2 separate regions of the Homo sapiens genome follow, and region 1 is linked to region 2. Evidence: promoter capture Hi-C in human tissues and cell types (Jung and others, 2019). All regions are on one chromosome and are shown on one strand. The core of a region is centred on a gene start or on the middle of the fragment in contact, and the rest is flanking DNA. Distances in the headings are between cores, read along the strand shown.

Region 1 (5,278 bases), core at 1,120-3,619, 62 kb before region 2:
GCTTACACATAGGCTTCTAGAATCCACCCCAACTTTATATCTTGCCCATGGTCAGGCATCATGAGGGGACTGGACCATGCTCTTGTGACTCTTTTCACTGCCATCAGGATTTGAAGTCTTTATTTAGAGAGTCTCAGGCTGCCTTTAATATGTTTTTACCCTCTGACCCAATAATTCTTTTTTTTTTTTGAGACAGAGTCTTGCTCTGTTGCTCAGGCTGGAGTGCAGTGGCGTGATCCCAGCTCATTGCAACCTCCACCTCCCAGGTTCAAGCGATTCTCCTGCGTCAGCCTCCTGAGTAGCTGGAACTACAAGTGCCCGCCACTGCACCTGGGTAACTTTTGTATTTTTAGTAGAGATGGGGTTTCACCATATTGGCCAGGCTGGTCTTGAACTCTTGACCTCAAGTGATCCACCCACCTCGGTCTCCCAAAGTGCTAGGATTACAGGTGTAAGCCACCGCACCTGGCCTGACCCAATAATTCTACTTCTGGGAATTTAATTGAATAAAATTGTCAGAGAGCTATTCAGAAATTCACATATACAACGTTTGCAATAACATGGTTATAATATCAAAAACCTGGAAACAGTCAAATTAGTTAAGTAGGAGATTACATAATGATACAGCCACACTGTACTATGCAGCTACTAAAAATCATTTAGCAAGATTGGAAAATGCTCATTATATACTATAAGGTGAAAAGAGTAGAATGCAACTATAGGTATATAGTGTAATTTTGTAAAACAAACTATACATATATATGCATATAATTTTAGAAAATATATTTGTATTAGTAGGGTTATAGATATTTGCAAGTATTTTTCCTATTTAAGCCAATCTGTATTGTCCAGGTTCTCCATAATTTTATCAAAAACAGTTAATTTTCAATTATAAATTAGCTCAGCTTTTTGTTTTAAATAAGTGATAATGAAAAGGCAGTGGTTCACATACAGAAAAGTGCGGGAACATCCTTACGAAGCAACAAATTTAAAGGTGAGAAGGAGAGACAACAAGATCAGCAGGGATCAAGGTGCCAGTGTGGGAGAGGGAGCACTTACAGATTTGGGTCATCCCGACCTGGGGATCTCTAAGAAAAAGGTGAAAATTCCATGCCAAGTTCAATAAATACAGAGCTCAATACTGATTTCAGATGATAAAGTATTAACACATTGTTGATGATAAGGAATCAGCTACATTGGTTCTGTTCACTGCAGCAGCATGGCCAGAAGAGTGATGCTTGGGTCAGGAGGTAGAGCTGCCTCCCTGACTAAGGTCGAGTCTAGAAGCAGAGATAGAAGAGCAGAGCCTGTTGTAGGTTGTGAGGGAGAGGAAGTGAACCCAGCAGGCAGAGCAAGCATAAAGTTTATTGCCAGGAACACAGCAATGGAAAATGCAGGGTTGAGTAATATTCAGAGATCCAAATCCAGCAGCCAGAGGGAGCCTTTAAAAGTTAAGTCTAATCTGTCATTCCTCTGCTCAAAATCCTCCAGTAGCAACTCATTTCACCCAGAGTAAAAGCCATAGTCATAAAATCTAAATCTAAAAAATGTGCCCTTGGAAATCAGCTTGAGGTATCATGTTGTTCTTGGACTGCACAAGGATGGCAGAATCTCCCCAGTAGCTGTCAGCCACACTGGCCTTTGCTTTTTTTTTCAGTTCCCTAGGACCTCTAAAGAGCTATAACAACTAAACCTGCAAGCTTGGAACCTATAGCAGATTTCATCCACAAGGGGTCCCAGGAGAGGAAGCCTTGATACACAGATGCAAGTTGGAATCTAGGTATGAGGGACTGTGGGGAGTGCAGTGAAACTGACTATTTGGGTCTGGAACATAAAGTGTCATTGTGCTCTTGGGGCAACTGCAGTTGTGCAGGGATCAAATCCTCTGCTTCGAACAAACAAACAAACAAACCAACCCACCAATGTGCTCAACTGCTTCAAGCAGGTTTAAGTAATAAGAGTATATATGAGGCTCACCTGCCTGCATTTATCTGTGACCCCAAGATCTAAAATGATGCCACAGTCATCATGGAAAAGTAGCGTGGGGAGAGAGAGGAATGTGGAAGAGAAGAAAGGGGAAGGTAGTCCCTGGAAAGCCTGGGGAACTGGTCAAGATGGTGTATGGCTGTACCCTGACCCGTTCCATCAAAGCAGAATCTAAAGTGCTGCTGTGAGTTTCCAGAAAAGGAGCAAAACCCACAGGATGCACACATTCCAACTGTGCTCTGTGGAGCCTTTGGTCTAAATCTAACCCAGCTTTTCTGAGGTCAAAGGCTGAGTCAGTGAGAGAGCTGAGAATAGAACCCCTGAGCACCTGACGCCCGCCTGTGACCTATCTGTTAAACCATACAGAACAAGGTGTGTGCACATAAAGCATTTTTTATTTTAGTGATGGGAAGCAGGGCTTACCAAGTTTAGAAACTTCTTTGAAACCAGAGGTTCAGTCTTTGCAACCTGCACACTGACAATTACATAAAACATATATTTCTTTTTCTTCCTAGTGAAAGGGACTTTTTCAAATAATAAATTAGAGGATTCAAAGATGTTTTCCTAGACATGAATGGTTGTTTAAAAGCAGCACTTTTTTTCTTATTTAAATGTAGATGAATCTGAATGGGCTGGATTTAAACTGTGACATGCATTTCTAAGTTACGTTCTCCTCTACCTGTCTGCGCCAACACAGAGAAACACAGCAGTGAAAGTCTGTGCTCAAACCTCATCATAAACACAAGCCAAGGAGTTCCATACAAGGAACAACTTTTTGATTCCACCTGCCTGTTTTTGCTAGACCTTGACTTTGAGAAGAAAAAAAGGCTTGCAGTATAATTTTGGGGCTGCTCCAAGCCATGCGGGTTTCCCAGGTAGGCTAATAATTTTGTGCACCCACAAACCGTTACTAAATAAATACTTTTTAGGCTAAGTGTGGCAAGGAGTAAGAGGACTTTTGTGACAGCAGTTGGCATGTCCTATCCTATGCTATCTAAAATGGTAGCCATTAGACACACTTGGCTCTTTAACTACAAATTGATTAAAACAAAATTCAATTTAAAAATTGGTTATTTACCAGCTACTCATACCAGCTACATTTCAAGTGCTAAATAGCCACCTGTGGGTAGTGGTTATTGTATTACACAGCACTGATATGCAGAAAGCTCTACTGGACAGTACTGTTATGTCCCAAGTAATTCAGGTTCCAAATATATGTGCTCCTTGCTGTGCTCATCTACTGACAAGGCAGTTTAATGGTAATCTGTTATATTCTACCATTCAATCATTCAGCATGTATTGATCGAACACCTACTACACTTCCTGGCTTTGTTTGCCTATGGGCCAAGTGGTACCTGTGGCTTCAGATTTCAAAGAAGGCCCCGGGGCAGAAAATGAAAAGACCCATGGTAATGTTTGATGTGAGACTGTCTGTGTAGAAAAAACTCACTGTTTTTCTCTTTATTTGCACTCTCAATACTTCACTTCTGATACTGTGTGTGTGTGTGTGTGTGTGTGTGCCTGTGTGTAAAGTTTCCCACGCCAAGTAGTTCTCCAATTCTCTGCAGACACCAACCAGGTATCCTAGCATTCAATTCAATTCGGACACTCATCAGACTTAGCATCAGCTCCTACAGTTCGGACACTAACCAGAGTTAGCATCAGATTTCACAGGTCAAGGATTTAATCCCACAAAATTGCTCCCAATTCAGATGCCAATCCCAAGTCCAGGTTGTCACTCATGGTTCTGACCAGCCAACTATAAATCAGGCTCTCCACAACCCCTCCCTAGGTGAATCGTTTGCTAGACTAGCACACAAAACACAGGAAAAAAGTTTACTTCCTAGATTACTGGTTGATTATAGAAGACACAACTCAGGAACAATCAGATGGAAGGGATGCATAGGGCAAGGGATGGAGAAGGAGTACGGAGCTTCTATGCCCGCTGCGGGCACACCACCCTCCCAGGACCTCCACATGGTCACCTACCCTGAAGCTCCCCAAATCCTGTAGTTTAGAGATTTTTATGCAGGCTTTAATATGTAGGGATGATTGGTTATTAACTCAGTTTCTAGCGCCTGTTTCCTGCCCAGAGGATGGGGGTTGAGGTTGAAAGATTCAAGCTTCTAATTCTGGTTTGGTCTTTCTGATGACCAGCCTCCACCCAGGAGCCCACCAACGTTTGCCTCATTAGAACAAAACACATTCCCACCACCCAGAAAATTCCAAGGTATTAAGAGCTCTGTGTTAGAAAGCAGGGTCAAGGACCAAATATTAGAGAAAAGATATTCACTTAACAAAACTATTGTTCAGGAAATTACTTTCAGGAGCTCTGTGATAGGAACCGGAGGCAGAGATCAGATGTGTATTTTTTTATTATGTCATACTGTCCACTGCCACTGGAGATGAGAAATGGGCTTAGGGTAAATGACCCAGGGCACCAAAATTGTGCACTTTGTAACTGTAACTATTTTTGCCTTCATTTAAAAAATCACTGCTATTACAATTTAAAGTATTTTTAGTATCCAGTAGTAACACCATGTGAGCATTCGTTTGAAGGTGGTCCAAATGATGCTGCTGAGAAAATGGTCCTGAAAATCAGTATCTTTGGAATAGAAGCTAGACATGCTAAAATAAGACCAAACACCCTGACACACTGGGTTGTACATTTTGAAGAAAGCATGCTATGAAATATTAGAAATAATCTTGGAAAAAACATAAAACAACTATTAAAGTGAAAATAGACAAAAATTACAGTAGATGTATGTGCTATGAGAATCCATCCTTCCCTAGTTTCCATTTAGGAAAATTTTCCATGTGGGAAAATTAGGCTGGAATTATGCAACGCTTAAGGAACACAACCCTCACATGAGCCATCCCTGAATAACTTTCTTCATCAAGGTACTTTTCCAGCGAAAACTGTATAGATTGGCAGCCAAGGAGACTGCTCAGTGAATCCATCCTGTTGTTTAGCTTCAGTCTGGCACATAAGAGTAAAAAATACTGTGGTTGCACACACAACATCCATTTTACCCTCTTACTTTGGGTAGAAACCATGTGGCTGTTCTCCCCTAACTCTAGAGGTGGATTCTCACTAGTCTAGGCCTGGCTGTTATTGGTTTAGATGGGCTCATTTCCCAGGTCTAAAATTACTGTGACTTCCTTAGCCATACTAATTTTTTTCAGAGGTGAGAAAGTCCAGTCAGTGGGAAGCTTAAGAATTTGGTTTTATGGTTGGAAGGAAAGGAACCCCTTCTTGCCCCCAGTGCAAATGAGAAAGCATTTAGCCCTA
Region 2 (5,859 bases), core at 2,169-4,668:
AAATAGATATGTCTTCCCCTATGTGTCCTATCCTCCCTTGTAAGTAGATAGGGGTCACAATACTCATTCTTGTCATTGAACTGTGACAGGAAGGGCTGAGGCCCTTAAAGTTTGCAATGCCTCTTTCATTACCCCATGCAGAAGCCATGGGTGTCATATGTTTCATGATGGCCTGACTAGAAGGAGTCACCAATTCCCAGGGGCCAAGATGTGATCATGAAATAAACTCTTTTTGTGTTAAGATACTGTGATTTGGGAGTTTGCCTGTTATGAGAGCTAGAATTTCTTGCTCTGATATGCGTTGTCAGGTACTAGCTGTCTGACTTTGGATAGATTACTTAACTCTCTGAACATCTGTTATTTCACCTGTCAATGGAAATAATAATAGCACCTATCTCACGTGGTTATTGGAGGATTACATGAGAAAGTGTACAGTGTTAGGCACAAAATATTCAATATGTGTTATCATTGTTATTATTATCGTTTACAGCAGGAGTTGATAAATAAATTCCCCAAAATGGGCAGCAACAAGGACAGGGAGTTGTGAAGAGATGACAGCAGGGCTGATCCAAGGAGATATTGTGGAACATATTAACAAAAGTTGTGGAATCTGGACTTGTAACTAAAGAGGACTGAAGATATAGACCCAAATATCTCTGGCTAGTGAATTGCCAACTTCCTATGAGGAAGCATGAAGCTGTCATTTGTGGAGGTTAACTTATAGAGATAAGCTAGTTATGATTAGGTGCATCTCCATAAACATGCTTACTAAATTTTCATCATAATGAAATATGTTAGGTTTATATAATCTCTTTTTCCAACATTTCAGTTGAAGTGAACATAGGTGTTAGATATGCCTAATATTACAGAAATATTGGTTGACCCTTTGCTCTTCCAAGTGATCTTAGGGCAAGGACTCAGGCTGCCTTCTCCCTTGACTACTTAGGGCAGAGGGAGGACTATGTGAGTGGGCCAGCATGTGCCCCTGTGGTGGACTGGTGGTCAAGGGGGGATGTTATATATAAATCCAATAAATACAGCATATGATTAATTCAGGGTAACTTGGTAGTGCTATTCTCCCTTTATTTATTGCTTTTCCTTTTTGAAAAGTAGCATATTTGCAATTAGCAAGTATAACAGATATCTTATTGAGACCTGTGCCATAATTGTATGATTTTTGGAGTGCAGTGATTATTTATAGGCGTAATCAGGGTGGACCATGGCCTCCAACTTCCAAGCTCAAGTGATCCTCCCGCCTCAGCCTCTGGAGTAGCTGAGACTACAGGTGCACCCCACTGCACCCAGCTTGATTTTTAAAATAAAATCAAATTGTTGATTTTTGAGAGAACAAACGGTTTAAGTTACTCCCATTCAGTAGCAGCTGCAAAATTAGGAGGGGGTTTAAGGGTGACCGTCTGGTTGTCAGAGTGTGTTGGAAGCTGAGTTTGAATTTGCACATCACTTTACATGGATTGAGAAGATGTCCTCCACCCCCCCGCCCCGCCCGACCTTTATTTTTGAGACAGAGTCTCGCTGTGTCACCCAGGCTGGAGTGCAGTGGTGAGATCTCTGCTCACTGCAACCTCTGCCTCCCGGGTTCAAGTGATTCTCGTGCCTCAGCCTTCAGAGTACCTGGGATTAAAGGCATGTGCCACCACACGTGGCTAATTTTTGTATTTTTAGTGGAAATGGGGTTTCACCATGTTGGCCAGGCTGGTCTCGAACTCCTGACGTCGTGATCTGCCTGCCTTGGCCTCCCAAAGTGCTGGGATTACAGGCGTGAGCCACCGCACAGGCCCTACTTTCTAAATAAAAAGGGAGGGGTCTTTTTTTGGGAGGAGGTTAAGGCCCGCAGCTCCCCTTGATATGGCCGCTGCTCTCAGGCACTTAATCCATTATTTCAACAAATGTTTAAAGAGCACCTACTATGTGCTTCAATTATACAAAGATGATACAACCTCTGTCCCTAGAATGACCACAGCCCAACAGAGAGACTGAGGGCGAAATGTGCAAACCCTGGGTCCTCCAAATACTTAAGATTCAGAGCCAGGTTGTCAGAGGTTCTCCTTTGTTCTGGCTGAATAGTAACACTGACAGGGACCTGCCAGTTTCAAGTTATTCCAGTTATTCGGAAAAGTGAATTGTTCCAAGTGGCGTCAGTGCACGTTAGAACGTGGGCCCGCGTCATGGTGTTCGTGAAGACTGGAAACAAGTGGGACCCCCGCCAGCACAGCTCATGCAACTGCTTCCCCTCCAACAGTTTCGCCCATCCCGACTCAATTGAGGGACCCGAGACGTTTCTTCTCTGGGCCAATCAGAACCCAGTCAGCATCTCTCTGATGCAACTGTTCCCTTATAAAACGATTAAACGTGGACCAGCTATTTTTATTCGGTCCTATAAAAATAGCTGCCGTCAGTCAGTCCTGGCGGGGAATCAAGGCCTCTGCTCTTCAAGTGCGCGCCCCAGTCGGCCGTGTCCTGATGTTACTTTCCCAGCCATTGGCATCTGGGGGCGCAGCTGGACCCACAGCTCCCAGACCGCGTTGTGTTCCACTGACAGAGTCTCCTAGGGAAAGGGAAAGGTGCATTTGCTCTCAGGCTCCGCCTAGGACACACACACCAAGATCTTCCCGGGCTGCTGGTAAAAGCCAGGATGCAACAGCCTGAGGGTCCCAGAGCGAGGAAGAAGGATCAATCAGGTCCCCCGGACGCACTTAGTTCAGCAGGAGTGGCGGGCTGTGGGGGTGGGAGGTAGCCCCAGGGCCTTTGATGTGGGCACACGCTCCCCCAGCCCGCCGAATCGGTTCCTCCCCTAACAAGGGATGTGGACACGGTTCATCTGCCTTCCGGTGTGCCTGAGCAAGAACTGTGCAACCTATCTCCACCCCCTCCGTCCCCGGTATGAGCACTTTTGATTCCTCCCCAGACAAAGCCAATCTGAACTCCAGCAGAATGAATAAAGGGATCAGGTTGCTCTCCCGGCCTCCCCTCACCTCCCTCCTCGCTTCTCCCTTTCCCCACGTGACTCTCTGGAATTTCGCCAAAGCTCCGAGTCTCTGGGTCCATTTTCACACCGAGCAAAGCAGAGAGGAAGGAGGCAAGGGAGACTAGAGGAAGGCTGAACGTGTGTCCTTTAAACACGGGGTCCAGACCCGGCGTATTTTGGGCGTTTCCAGGCTCTCTCGCCAGAGTGGCCTTGAGTTTGGGGGTCTTTTCCAGCCTCGCTAGCTTTTTCCTCCGTGCAATTAAAATTATGGCTCTTCTTCCACTCCCGTAATCATTGCACCTCTACCCTGCAGACCTCCTCCGGGGTGTTCAGCGCGGAGGTGGGTGTTGGTGTGCAGCAAGCCGCGTCCCCGCAGCCCTCCTCACCCAGGCGAGGGGCGGGGACGAGAAAGTAGCAGCAGCGCCCCCCAGTCTTTCCTCTGAAGCTTCCGAACAGTCTGCTTCAGGGAGCGCAGCCTGAGGCGGTGTGGTGCGGTGCGGCTGCAGGGCGGGCGAGTCCCCGGAGCTGCCCTCAGCGCTGCACAGTTTCCAGCGAGCGGACCCCGGCAGATGAGGTCTGCCGAGCCGGGTGGCTCGACCAAGGAGTGGGTGTGGGTGGGTCTTTCGGGGCTCCCGGCGACCCGCGGTGCCGACGCAACGCCGACGTATGGTGCCAAGCGAACTTTAAAAAGCTGCTTCGGACAAACCAGAGCCAGGATTTCCACTGTCGGGGACCCGGGATCGGAAGGGTCTAGCCCGAGGGAAATGCTGGAAGATCCCATCGGCCAGTGACCAGCAACTTTCCGGCGAGATTTTGACGCGGAGAACTGTGCTCTGCCTCCTCTTATTCTCCCAAAGCTCACGTTGGCGTCCTGCCTTGCGGGGGAACTCGGCGCGCTCTCTGCCTGAGCAGCGAGTGAATTGAACCCCAGCCCGCTCCGGCGCCTCCGGGCTGATGAGTGTCGCTCTCCGCCCGTCCATCTCTTTTTCCCGGAGGTAAAGGCCCGCGGTCCCCCACCTTCAGTGCGCCCGGGTTCCAAGCGCCGGAGCCAGCGTTTTGGCGGAGCCGCTTCTTGGATGCTGAAGGCTGGGCTCCTCCATCGTGGGTGCCGAGGCGGCGATGGGTGTCCTCAAAGTGTGGCTCGGGCTGGCCCTAGCGTTGGCGGAATTTGCAGTATTGCCTCATCATTCCGAAGGTGAGAGAGCGGTGCCGCGTGTGTGTGTGTGTGTGCGTGTGCGTGTGTGTGTGTATGTGTGAGTGATCGTGCAGTTTAAAAATCTCAGCAGGTTTTATGGTATTTCGGTGAGGTGGAAGTTTTTCTGGGAAGGGTGAGGTGGAAGTGAAACTGGAATAGGCTTTTTCTGATAAGATTCCTACTCCTGATTGTTTTGTATTCGGATTACACCCCCGAAACGGCCTCCCTCTCTGCCCTAAGTGCTTTTGGGTGGGTGGGTGGCCGATGGAGGTGACATCTCTGAAACTGATCCTTTTTCTTTCCACCACCTACCTTTCCCCGAAGGGAAAGCAACTGCATGGAGCACAGGTGAGGAGCGAACAATTGCTCTTACCTGTTTAAAAATACTTCTGTTCCTAAGAAACATACAGTCTTTCATCTTAAAGCCCCATCGCTCTCCCGCCCTCCTTACCTCAGTTAGTCTCCCCCTAAAGTCCAGTTAGGATTTTATAACTAACTGGTTGGAGCGTGTTCTGGTCGTGGGCAGTTCAGTTGCACTGAAAGAAATCTCTCCAGTACGGAGAAGCACGAACCAGCCTGCTTCCCAGAACAAAAGTGGTTAATAAGAGTTTAGGTTCATTCTTTTACTTCACCCTCCGCCTCCTGGTTTTCCTCCGAGGCTCCAAGCTACCTGTAAAACCCCGGAGCCGCAGGAGAGAAAAGGAAGCCGTGAGACTAGTTGTCGCCATGATATCAAATGCAATCCGGGCTCAGCCAAATAAATGAGTCAATAAGTAAATCAAGAGTTTGGGGTCATGGGATGCCGGGCCTGGGGACGCGAGGCGCTGTGAGCTCCCTCCTGCTCCGAGGAGCCAGGGAAGTCGCCCCGCCAGTGCTTAGGGAGGGGGAAGGGAGCCGGCGGGCTGGGAGGAAGACGGCTTAATCCACAGCGCCTGGCTCTCGGCTTCCCCTCCCGGCTCCATTCATTATTCATCCAGCTGCGGGAAGAAGAGTTCACCTGCCCAGCCGCAAACCAGAGCCGCGGCTGGGCGGCGGCGGCGGGCGCAGGGCGGGCCGCCTTCTCCGCCCTGGTGCCTAGGAAGGGGCGCGGGGCGGCTCCCGGGAGTCGAGCTCTGGCGCAGGACTGGGGGCTGCGGGAGGCCCGGGGAGGACAAAGCTCTGCCTCGGGTCGACCTCCAGTCACTGGAGCAGCTGCCTTTTCTTTGCTGGCTTCCCAAGAGAAAGGCCTTGGGAATCCACGCACAAGGGTGGGGGACTTTCCCGTGGGTCCAGGTGCTGCCTTCTGCACTCTTCCGGGATGTGTGTCAAGTGTGTATAATCTCCGCGAAAGGCACATCTGGGGCCTGTGCAGCCTTCTCCCAACAGTGCAAGTCCTGTAGAAATATAACTTTATTGTTTATGTGCGTGTGGGCGCGTACTTTGGAAAAAAAAAAAAAAAGCTTGTAGGGCTTGATTATAACAATAAACCAGATGAGAGAGTCACCCCAGGCCACCCAAACCTGAACTTGGTACTTAGAAAAATTAATTTCACTTGGTGGCAGTTTTTAAAATTTAGAGTCCTATCCCAGCAACGCAGGAAACGTGCTATCACTCCCGGATAGCTCACCAGGGGGCAGTTGGAATGGTGCAGCTTGTCGGAACCAAAACTCTGAAATCAACAAAAGGCATTATTATTAAG

The links. The method cuts DNA at HindIII sites, captures the fragments that hold promoters and counts their contacts. A contact is called where the count stands out against the background at its distance.
Region 1: a contact is called between a fragment that was not itself captured here and the fragment with the promoter of FRAS1 in region 2, in 1 of the 25 tissues and cell types used here (dorsolateral prefrontal cortex).

What each region holds. Positions count from the first base shown.
Region 1 is chr4:77,992,905-77,998,182 of GRCh38, forward strand. No RefSeq gene overlaps it. Among named protein-coding and RNA genes, the nearest start is that of FRAS1, 62 kb to the right of the region's middle. The HindIII fragment of the contact is 4,570 bases long and covers 85-4,654 here.
Region 2 is chr4:78,053,905-78,059,763 of GRCh38, forward strand. FRAS1 (Fraser extracellular matrix complex subunit 1) reads left to right here and starts at 3,419. Exons shown (of 74, transcript NM_025074.7): 1 at 3,419-4,181. The coding sequence starts at 4,106. RefSeq lists an enhancer at 2,005-2,976. The HindIII fragment of the contact is 7,312 bases long and covers 1-5,859 here.